Linked DNA regions of Homo sapiens: region 1 is linked to region 2. The links are contacts of gene promoters, found by promoter capture Hi-C in blood cells and fetal thymus (Javierre and others, 2016). All regions are on one chromosome and are shown on one strand. Each heading gives the region's core, a stretch centred on a gene start or on the middle of the fragment in contact. The rest is flanking DNA. Distances are from core to core; before and after follow the strand shown. Region 1 has its middle 32 kb from the start of LINC02419. Region 2 holds the start of PIWIL1 (piwi like RNA-mediated gene silencing 1).

Region 1 (5,528 bases), core at 959-3,458, 230 kb before region 2:
TGAATAATAAACTAGCTCTTTCCTCAAAACTATTTGTGTCTGGGCACTGCTGTTGCAATAGACAAAGAAGCAAAGTCCATTTTCTAAGGAAATGTTGACTATGAGAATAATTCCATTTAGGAGCAATCAGAGCCATCAACCTCTGGCTAGAATTCTACTCGGAACATGAAGATCTTTTAAAAATTTGCCTCTAGGCAAAAATAATTCAAGTCAAAGGAACCATTTGGATGCATTCATCTGTTCTCTTCCTCCCTACCTCCAGTCTGCCCCTCTCAAACCACACATTCTTAAAAACACCTTCCCAAATCATTTTCAACTGCCTCCATCTATCCCCACCGGCCTTTATGATCTTTAGACATGCAACCAAATGCTGCTCCCATGGCAACAGCCTGAAGAAAGTAAACTTTTAATTATGCCACATGAAAATGGAGAGCTCCGTGAGTCCTCTCTGCCTTTTCTTTTAGTGCAAATACAGTTCCGGATTCCATGGGCGGTCTTGCTTTCTAAAATCTCCAGACGTTCAAAGGAGGATGATCATCACGCTTTATCTCTAAGTGTCTTCATGGAAAGTTTGCATCTAGTGTGTTTCAAAGTCCCCCAAAGAGAAGCTTTCATATTCAAGAGCAAAGTAACTGAATTTGAAACTTTTATTAATAATGTAAAAGGCTTGCGTGACACGCAGAAGCTGGAAAAATATGGGGAAATCAGAGGAGACTTTGCTTTATCAAAGAGCAGCCAAATAAAGGTTGGGCTTGCTTCTGCGGTGGGAGGAGGGGAGAAACGCCTCCAGGGAGGAGGTCAATGTCTTTTTCTCCACTTGAGTGCTAGGACTTTGGGACTGAGGACCACCAATTCAGTCCTAGGGAATGCCTAGGCGTTTTACAAAAATACACGTGGGTATCAATTTTCAATCCAGCCCTGCTGATACCCCCTAGGGGAGCAGAGAGCCTCTCTAAATGTTTTCCCGCAATTCCCAGGCATGACCTCCAGGTTGTACCTAGAGGGAAAACGGGTCATTTGCTTCTTGTTCTTAAAGCGGCAAATTGCTCATCTTAGCAGCAGGTCACGCACTGAAAGCCCCTTGCAGAGGTCTGTGCCGGCTTCTTCCAGATCTTTAGTTTGGTTTTAGAACTTGTGGCACCTTTGATTTTACCTTGTGTTTTCTCGTAGAAAAGTTCGGTTAACAGGTGGGTACAATAACTCCATTAACTTACATCACGTTTCTCTTTTTCCCAACCTAATCTGTAATTCTCTAAGTTCTAGGAATTTTTTTAAGTCTTTGCAAATGAGAAGGAAGAAAAAGAATCTCAATTGTTATGCCATTTAATAATGGTGAGCCTACTTGTGGAAATTTAGGTAAAGGTATGATTTGGTATTTTTTTTAACCTAATAAGTATCACATCGTATTAAGAAATTATTAGATTGAGTCACAGATTTTTGGAAGAATATTTATATATATACATAATAGAATTTATATGGGTACCAGGAATATAATTCAGCCAGGGAGAGGACCATGTCTGGAGACCACCAGTCTTTTATTTCCATGTATTTCTCAAAAAGGAAGGCCAGGGGGCCTGCTCAAATCTAGACACCTTTATTCTTAACTTTTGGTTAAAGTATAACATACAGAGAAGTTATAAGTCATGAATGTGTCATCCAAAGATTAATCTCAAAGTAAACACACCTACGTACCCAACACCACTCTCAAAAAGAGAAGGTCACCGGCCAAGCACCTTCTAAATAGGTATGCATGTTGTCAAAATCACTCCCAAAGCATTTTCACCCATTGACCCTCCTTCAAACAGTGGGAATGAGAGTTTGTTTCTCCACGTCTTCACCAGACTGGTGACAATCAAACTTCTCAATCTTTACCAATCCGAGAGATCAAAAATGGTTTGTCAGTATCATCTTTTTATTTTTGCTCTTTGAGGCGGAGTCTCCCTCTGTCGCCCAGGCTGGAGTGCAGTGACGCGACCTCGGCTCACTGCAACCTCTGCCTCCTGGGTTCAAGCGATTCTCCTGCCTCAGCCTCCCAAGCAGTTGGGATCACAGGCGCCCACCACCACGCCTGGCTGATTTTTTTTGTATTTTTAGTAGAGATGGGGTTTCACTATGTTGGCCAGGCTGGTCTCGAACTCCTGACCTCAGGTGATTTGCCTGCCTTGGCCTCCCAAAGTGCTGGGATTACAGGCATGAGCCACCACACCTGGTATCCTCTTTATCTAGACTTTTAAAATGTTGAGTGAAGCTGATTTTGAGTGAAGAAATTTCTTGTGTTTATTGACTTCTGTGATACACCTGATTCGTTGTTTTGTTATAACAACAAGTAAACAAAGCCAGCCTGATCTACCCATCAGGATCTGTTTAAATAAATTATGGGAACATAGTAACCATAGATGACCTCAAATCACTTAGAAAGAATGAAGTACAACTATATTCTCCACAAAAGTACCTCCCAGATATAGATTCAATGAAGAAGGCAAGAAACCAAAAACATACAGTGGAGGATTCAATCTTGTTTGTTTGTTTGTTTGTTTGTTTTTTGAGATGGAGTCTTGCGCTGTCACCCAGGCTGGAGTGCAGTGATGCGATCTCGGCTCACTGCAACCTAAGCCTCCCAAGTGATTCTCCTGCCTCAGCCTCCCAAGTTGCTGGGATCACAGGTGTGCGCCACCACGCCTGGCTAATTTTTGTATTTTTAGTAGAGACGGGGTTTCACCACGTTGGTCAGGCTGGTTTCGAACTCCTGACCTCGTGATCTGCCCACCTCGGCCTCCCAAAGTGCTGGGATTATAGGTGTGAGCCACCATGCCCGGCCTTAATCTTGGTTTTAAAAAGAAAAAAGGATGTGTATATGCATCACAGAATTCTGGAAGAATATTCTAGAAATCGTTCCAGTAGTTATCTCTGTCAAATAGGGCAGGGGAAGGGGTGGGGGAAAATTTTCACCTTTAAATTTAAAACAAATGTATTTGCAATAGTTTTAGATTTACAGAAAAATTGTAAAGATAGTACCGAGGCTGTAAACCTATAAAACCACTCTTAAAAATAAAGTTTATTAGTTTAAATTTGTTAAAAAGTTAATACCGAGAACTCCCGTGTACCCTTTAGCCAGTTTTATTTCCCCAAATGTTATCCTCTCATCTTCCCATGTCCATTTGTCAAAGCTGAGACACCAGCCTTGGCACTCACTACTGTCTGAACCTCAGACCTCATTCCAACGTCCCCAGTTCCCCCTTAGGCTCCTGTTCCTGTTCCAGGGTCCCGTCGGGAGCTCATGCTGCAGAGGGTCATCCTGGCTCCTTCGGGTCCTCCTGACTGTGGCCACTTCTCAGTCTTTGTTTTTCAAGTTTGTCAGGCATGTTATAGAACATCCTTCAGGTGGGGTTTGTCAGGTGCTTTTCGTCACAATTAGACTGGGTTTGAGGGAAGAACGCCGGAAGCAACGTGCCCTTGTCTTCACATCATATGGGGCAGTCACGAGGTGTAAACCTTGGCGACCAGGTGGCATCTGCCAGGTGTCTCCACTTTTCCCTTTCCCTGAGCTGTGCAGAAGTGAGTCCCTAAGTGCTGGGGGAGGGGGCGTAGGAAGGGTTAGTTAAGCTCCTCCTCCCCCGGGAACATCCACTCATTTTATTTGTCATTCTTCTTTTACATTTAAACCCTTCTGCGAGGTTTCCCTTTCAACCTATGCACGTATTATTCCATAATTTAAACATATAGTTCCCCAAACAAACAAACAACTAGAAACAAATGTAAGTCGCTGGACAAAACTCAGGGGTCGGATTCCCTGGCCCTTAGCCAAAAGCAAAGCTTTCCGTTCTCCGGGAAAGAAAATAAACCCAGTCCCCTTTGAGATCCAGGGCAGGGGAGAGGAAAATGACTCGGAAACCCTGTTGTGAGAAGCACGTTGCTATCCCGGATGAAGGGCCATTTCAGCCCTAAGCTCAAAGCCGGAGCTCCGACCAGCACTCTCAGGACGCCTGGGTGCTGGCCACGTGGTTGAGCCAGGCAGGAGGAGGCGTTGTCAGGGGCACAGAAGAAACCAGAAACTCATTAGCTGGGACCCCAGCCGGGACCTTTGCCCCACTGGTGACCTTGGGAAAGCCTCTTAGCTTCCTTGGCCACTTCCGTGGTGGTCGAGTGAGGATTCCGAGTTCTGCCTGCCTGCGTGAAAAATATCTTTTGATGATTGATTAGCTAATGCTTGGAAACAGCTCCGGCACTGGAAGCCAGTTCCCCAGAAAGTGCTAAGCAGTGTTATTAAGGGATCAAACAGGAAGGCCTTTGTGTGTGATGCCAAGATGATTTTGTTAAATTATGAAACTTGCTTTGATAAACTGCCTGGAGGTGCCATCTGTGACATGCTTAATGTTTTTTTCCCCACTTCCCTGAGCTTATTGAATTATTTGTACACAATTTATTTTACTTTCATAGGGCATTAAATTACTCTGAGACCTTGAAATATTTTACAGCCAATTCAAGGCATCTGGAGGCTGTCAGGAGGGTTTTTGATGGATTTTGTCTTTAGGAGATGAAACAGGGGGAGTATTCTACAAATGAGGGAGGGCGGGACCTGTTGCATGTAAAAGTTGCTTTCAACTCTGTTTAACATGGGTGCTTTAAATTTTCAGCTGCTGCGGAAATGCTTTTATAAAATACATGAAGGAATCGAGGTACATTTAATCATCTCTGTATCTTAATCAGGAACATTTATCAAAGCCCTTTATTAGGGGAAATTTGAAATGTATACCAACGGAGAGAAAATACGATGGCTCCTGGTGGATTTATTACACTGCTGCAGCGATCCTCAAACTGAGGCCGGCCTCTGTGGTCTCTATGCCTACTCCTTCCATGAACCCCACGGGGAAGTCTGAAGCAGCTTCCAGATACCACAGCGGCATTTCATGAGTAAATAAGAATGCTATTTTTGAGTAGCCCAAGAGTTGTGCTGTTCTCACCGGGGATGCTTAACTATGACCTTGGAAAAGCTCCTCCTCGCCCTGGCAGGGGTCAAAGTCGCTAGGAGGTGGGTCACTGGCTGGAACAAGCCAGGTGTGAAAAGTCAGCGCTCGCAGGGGACCCCAGTCTTGAATGTTCACCTTCCAGGACAGCGTCTTCTGACGGGTCCTGGGCATGAGCGCCGCGCTCCTCGGGAAGCACACAGAAGTGTTTTTATTGGATCATCTGTGATGTCGCAGAGTGGGGAGTCAAGTCGCCGGCACTCCCTGACAGGCTGTGCTATTCCAGGCACCCTCCTTTAACCTCTAGCTGCAAAGCTTCCTCCTCTAACTTTCCTTCTGCTGTGCTTTCCCGAAGCTGACAGCAGCACCTTGACCGCAGTGTTATGGTTCTCAAAGTTTTCTGTCCATTGGAATCTGCCGGGCAGCTGGCTAAAAATCTTGACTGCTCTCATACATCACTGATGGACGTGCGGGTTGATACAACTTAACGGGGAATGCAATGGGGTCAAAACTATCCAACATTTCAAATGCATATACCATTTGACCCTGAAATAGGAAACTGTC
Region 2 (5,982 bases), core at 2,360-4,859:
TAAAAACGTTTGAGCTGTCCACCAATGGATGAGTGGATAAACAAAATGTGGTCCGTCCAAACAGCAGAGTAAGATCCAGCCGTAAGGAGGACGGAAGCTCTGACGGGCTACGACGTAGGTGAGCCTTGAGAATACGGCGCTGAGTGAAAGAAGCCAGACACAAACGGCCACCTAGTGTATGACCCCGTTTCTATGAAATGAACAGGAAAGGAGACAGAAAGCAGATTCGTGGTTGCCAGGGTAGTGGGGGGAAGAGGGAGATGGAGAGTGACGGTTTTATTTTGGGATGATGAAAATGTTTTGGAACTAGAGGTGGGGGGTTGCGTAACATTATGAACGCATTAAATATCATGGAATTGTTCACTGTAAAATAGTTAATGTAGTGTTATGTGAATTTCACCTCAATTAAAAAAACAACAACAACAACAACCAAAGCCATCATGTGAGGCCCAGCAAATCTGAGCCCTCATTCTCTCCTGGTAACTGGCTAGGACTAAGCAGCCACTGGCCCTTCAGGTCAGCATCCACGTTCCCAATTGTCACACTCCCTGCTTCCCTTGTTGGGCCATCAGCGGGAGGGCAGAGTGTGTTTTATTCACATCAATGGGAGGACAGAGTGTGTTTTACTCACAGCACTTAACAGGGTGCGTTCGGCAGTCCAGATGCTCACATTTCCTTGCTCGCCAACTTCTAGAACCCGGTCTGTCCCTTCTGCAGCATCATCCCCTACGACTCCCCTGCCTGTGCCTGGCGTTGCTCCCGTGCTGGATGACTTGCAGTTTTCTAAACACCTCACATGTGCTCAGACCAACGTGCTCCGCCATGCCGATCCTCCTGTTCCCTGCAAACCCAAATCAGCCTTCAGGGCTTCAGCAGCGTTGAGTCACGAAGCATCCCTCAGCAACCTCCCGCTGAGCACCCACAGGATTGGTGGCACTCTGCTCACCTTCCCTGGTGGGTACACCCCTCTAGAGGCGGCTCCCGGAAAAAGAATCTGTAACTATTCATTTTTTAACTTCCAGAGTCAGGCACGAAGTTATACCTAGCAACGGATCCCAGAAGGGGTCCTGGTGGTGCTGTCAACATGGAAATTTTAAAGGTCACATTTTTTTTTCCTTGAATTTCTTTTCAAATTTTCGTTGAGTTTTCCTTTTCAAATTTTAGGTGAGCTTCTTGCGACATGATGTTTACACTCTCAGAAGAATGAGGGGTTTTGCCTCTGTCTTGCTATATCACAACTTATGTCTTTAGAAACTATTTCATACTTCACACACCAAGACACTCCAGCGATGTTCTTTAGCAGAGGCAAGTAAGGAGTTTAGCATATAGAGAAAATAAAGCAGAGGGAAAAGTGTTACTTCTATAGTGTAAGGTGCATTCACGGTATTTTTCTCCCGAGTTGAGGCTGTAAACATCTATTTCTTGTTTTATGGCTCCATCTGCTGGCAGGTCTCAGAATGTCTTTCTCATCAACACCTTAAATCCTTGGAAAAGTTATGTTCACATTGTATTCCAAAAGGCACCATTTAGTTTTTACAAAGCGAAAGCCTTTGGAAAGCTATTTTTCTTTCAAACTACTGGCTTCCAACGCCTTTTGGCCTCGCCCCAAATTTATTAGCCTTCTCTGAGCATAAGAATAACTTGATGTTACTTCTTGAAATTCCTTGCACCCGTCCCAGACCTCCTGGAATCAGCGTGATCTGGGAGTCTGTATTATTTGGAAGTTCCCTCAGTGGATGCTTACACTCAGGCTAGTGTGGGAAACGCTGACATCTAACCTGCCCCTTTCATGGCACAGATGAGACGTAGGATTTGGGAAGGTGGCTTGGGGAGCCTTCAGCCCTCTCCAGCCCCCGATTCCCAGGCATGCGCTTTTAAGTATGAATAATAAGCAATATGTAGGCCGGGCTCTGTGGCTTATGCCTGTAATCCCTGCACATTGGGAGGCCAAGATGGGTGGATCACTTGAGCCCAGAAGTTTGAGACCGGCCTGGGCAACATGATGAAACCCTCTTTCTACAAGAAATACAAAAAAATTAGCTGGGTGTATTTCTCGTATTTCTACAAGAAATACAAAAAAATTACTACAGGTGGCACACACCTGTAGTACCAGCTACAGGGGAGGCTGAGGCAGGAGGATCACCTGAGCCCAGGAGGTCGAGGCTGCAGGGAGCCATGATCCCACCATTGCACTCCAGCCTGACAGAGCCAGACCCTGTCTCAAAACAAAACAAAGAACACAAAATTATGTGGGCATGGTGGTGGGTGCCTGTAGTCGCAGCTACTCAGGAGGCTGGGAGACGGAGGTTGCAGTGAGCCAAGATCCTGCCACTGCACTCCAGCCTGGGCGACAGAGTGAGACTCCGTCTCACAAAAAAAAAAAAGGAAAAGCACTATGTTTACCGTATAAATGCAGTTTTAAAACCTGTCTGCAGAGGCGACCCTATTTCTACTACCTCCTACAATCATGTTTATAGTTATGGAACATAACAGGTCAGGCAGTTAGTGAGCCTCAGTCCCACTTCCACCTTGACAAATAAACCTGTTCTATCTTACAATATTTCCGGTTGTTTTGTGGCTGTTGACTTTGCCTCCATGAGGAAATTAACTCCTATGGAGGGCACCTAGCTCGGCGTAGACCCGGTCGCTACCACCTGCGATGCCTTGGAAATGCAGCCGGCGGGGCCCACCTGTGGAGCCTGCAGACCGGAATCTCTGGTCTGTGTCCTAACCAGCCCTGCAGGTGATCCCCCGCAGGTGAAGGCTGAGAACCCCTGCGGTCCACGTTGGCATGCACCCAAGGCACAAGTCATTGAAAGCTAAATTTCCAGGTAACGGCCTCCTGGCACCTTAGACTTGCATTGCAGTTTTATTTTCTTTGGGGTCAAAGTTCAAATCTCTGTGTGCTGAGTGAAAGAGCTTCCGACGTTAAAGGCCAGACCAAGATCGAGTCCACTGCTACAGTAGGGCGCTCGGTGCCCACGTGGGCACCATTTCGAAGTCTATGGAGGGTCTACTTCGTGCGCCGCCGCCCAGTTCCACGAGCTAGTAGGGAACTGGCCCGACCCCGTGTCCGCCTGCAGGGGGCTGGCACTGGGGGAACTGCAGGAGTCAAGCCAGGGAAGGCCGGGGGTCTGGGCGAAGCAGAAGAGGAACAGGGCGGGGCCTGGGTGGGGCTGGCCGGGGCCTGTGGGGAGGGGGCAGGGCACGTGTTGGGTGTCTGGGCGGGGCCAGGCGGGGTCTTGGGGGGACAGGGGCGGAGCCTGTGGGGCGGGGGCGGGGCCTGTGGGGGCCTGGGCGTGGCGTCTAGGCAGGGCCAGGCGGGGTCTTGGCGGGATGGGGGCGGGGCCTATGGGGAGGGGCCAGGGCATGTGCGGGGTGTCTGTCCGGGGCCAGGCGGTGTCTTGGGGGGCCAGGGGCAGGGCCTGTGGGGCGGGGCGGGCCTGGCTTGTTGGGCCTGTGCCGGGTGTCCGGGAGGGGCCAGACGGGGTCTTGGAGGGGCGGGGCCGGGGCCTGTGGGGCGGGGCTCCTCTGGTCCCGCCCCGGCCACATCAGAAACCGCCGTTTGCGGGGCAGCCAATGAGGGCGTGGCGCGCGCCGCTTTCCGCCGTTACTGGGCGTATGGCGTACAGACACGAGGCCGGCGCCCGGGAGGCGGTGTTCATCCGCCCGGGAAAAGAGCGCCTGTTGCTCGCTGCCCGCGTGTCCCTGGCTCTCTCGGGAACCCAGCGCCGAAGGCGAGGTGGGCGCGGGCCGAAGGAGGTCCTGGGAGGTCGGCGGCGCGGAGGGATCTCCGCGGGAGCCGTTGGGGCTGTTGGCCTCGGGCTGAGGTGCAAGGACCAGGACTAGGGCGAGGGCAGCGGTCCAAGGTGCGGGGCCAGGCTGAGGTGCTAGGTGTGCGGGGGCCGGGATGCGGGGGCGGCGGCTGGGGGTCCGGGATGTGGAGGTGAGGCTCGAGGTGCGGGGACCGGGTTGCGGGGGCGAGGTCCCAGGTGCGGGGGATGCAGGAGCCGGGTGCGGGGTCGAGGTCCCAGGTGCGGGAGATGCAGGAGCCGGGTGCGGGGGCGAGGTCCCAGGTGTGGGAGATGCAGGAGCCGGGTGCGGGGGCGAGGTCCCAGGTGCAAGGGATGCAGGAGCCGGGTGCGGGGGCGAGGTCCCAGGTGCGGGAGATGCAGGAGCCGGGTGCGGGGGCGAGGTCCCAGGTGTGGGAGATGCAGGAGCCGGGTGCGGGGGCGAGGTCCCAGGTGCGGGAGATGCAGAAGCCGGGTGCGGGGGCGAGGTCCCAGGTGTGGGAGATGCAGGAGCCGGGTGCGGGGGCGAGGTCCCAGGTGCGGGGGATGCAGGAGCCGGGTGCGGGGGCGAGGTCCCAGGTGTGGGAGATGCAGGAGCCGGGTGCGGGGGCGAGGTCCCAGGTGCGGGGGATGCAGGAGCCGGGTGCGGGGGCGAGGTCCCAGGTTTGGGAGATGCAGGAGCCTGGGGTGCAGGGGCCGGGGTGCGGGGGCGATGTATCAGGTGTGGGGGGTGCGGGGCCGGGGGGAAGCGCTGAGGCCCGACTTGCCGGGGCTGTAGGGCCGGGGTGCGGGGGTGCAGGGGCCGGGGTGCGGGGGCGAGGTCCCAGGTGCAGGGGCCGGGGTGAGAGGCTGAGGCCTGAGTTGCCGGGGGTGCGGGGGCGGAGGTCTCCGCATTGGCGGCCGTGCGTGAGACTGCGGGGACCTGAGAGCTCTGCAGGAGGGCCTTCGGGACCTCCCGCACTACCCACGCGGCCGCGGGGCGCGATCTCTGCGGAGGGCGAGGGCCCCTTCCCGCGTCCGCCGCCGCTGCGCTGCGCCCCCGGGAGCCTTGGGAGCCGGACGTTGGGAAGAGGACGGAACTCCGGAGGACCCCAAGTGAGGCGGCGACCGCGACGGCCGGGCTCTGCGAGGCCCGGGGGTCCTCGCGGGTGCTGGCGGCCCGGCCCTTGGCACCTGTGGAGGGAAAGGGGCGGCGGGGCGGTGGCGTCCTGGGATGGATGCTCTCGCCGTCTTCAGCCCCGGCGGCCTCCAGGGCAAAGCCGGCTGCACCCCTGCGCAGCCTGTTCTCTGAGCGCTTTTCTTTTCGTTTTTAAGTTGTGGCCAGAGAGACCCCGCTCGCATAGAATGTACCGCTCAACGGTTTTTAGGCGTGTGGCGCGGTGGTGGTTCCCACGTGCACGGCGTGGTCCTGAGCTCAGCGCCGGAGGGACGTTAGGTGGAAGCGTCTTTGGCAGAGCTGGTAGCGAATCGGAGAGGTGATTTCCAGCGAGTGTGGTTATTGGAAGCACACACTTGCTTTCTGACTTTAAGAATTCAATATCCAGACTGAGGTGGTTTTGAAACTGGAAGGAGATAAAGCTGAAAACCAGAGTTGTGCTGGGAAACCTGGACGTAGAGCGCTGAGCCCCCCAGGTATTTAGTGACCAGCACAGCGCGCCGCCGTGGGTTTCAGGCCCTGGAGATGATGAGAATCAGCTGGAGGGCTGCTTCCAGTCGGCTTCTAACTCGGGAGGGCTGAGAGCCGCTCCCCACCCCGTAATTTCTGTTCCCAGCCAGTCCAGATGCTGCCCGTCAGGGACCAGGCTTTGAGAACTGACGTGCTGCTTTAGGAATATTTCCTGCTGGAGATGAGAGTTCAGCTTGTCACTGTTTTTTAATCACTGTTTCACACCGTTGTTTGTAAGGTGTCAAGCGACGGACTGGGTGCAAAGGCATCAATTGTGATTCGCAGCCTAGTTGGAGAAGCTATGGAGTGCAGAGATGTGGGGAGGGAGAAAACAGGTTACCATGTAGTAGGGTGACCGTGGTCACGCCGGGGAAACGGCTTTCGGAGAAGGGAGCAAGGGATGGCCTGCGAGCTGGTCCTTAAGCGGTTCACTGGATTCTTGTGGTTTCAGAGGAGGGTGAGGCTTTGTTAGCAGAGGGTGTGCCACGGTGTAGGGTGAGTCACGGAATTGATAGTGATAGGAAG

Evidence for each region. The method cuts DNA at HindIII sites, captures the fragments that hold promoters and counts their contacts. A CHiCAGO score of 5 or more calls a contact.
Region 1: a fragment that was not itself captured here is called in contact with the fragment with the promoter of PIWIL1 in region 2 in 1 of 17 cell types (naive CD4 T cells); the score reaches 7.4 in naive CD4 T cells.

The regions. Positions count from the first base shown.
Region 1 is chr12:130,100,788-130,106,315 of GRCh38, forward strand. No RefSeq gene overlaps it. Among named protein-coding and RNA genes, the nearest start is that of LINC02419, 32 kb to the left of the region's middle. The HindIII fragment of the contact is 3,205 bases long and covers 607-3,811 here.
Region 2 is chr12:130,334,278-130,340,259 of GRCh38, forward strand. PIWIL1 (piwi like RNA-mediated gene silencing 1) reads left to right here and starts at 3,610. Exons shown (of 21, transcript NM_004764.5): 1 at 3,610-3,869. LOC101927786 (a long non-coding RNA gene) reads right to left here and starts at 1,963. Exons shown (of 3, transcript XR_242978.5): 1 at 632-1,963. RefSeq lists an enhancer at 734-903. The HindIII fragment of the contact is 10,112 bases long and covers 1-5,982 here.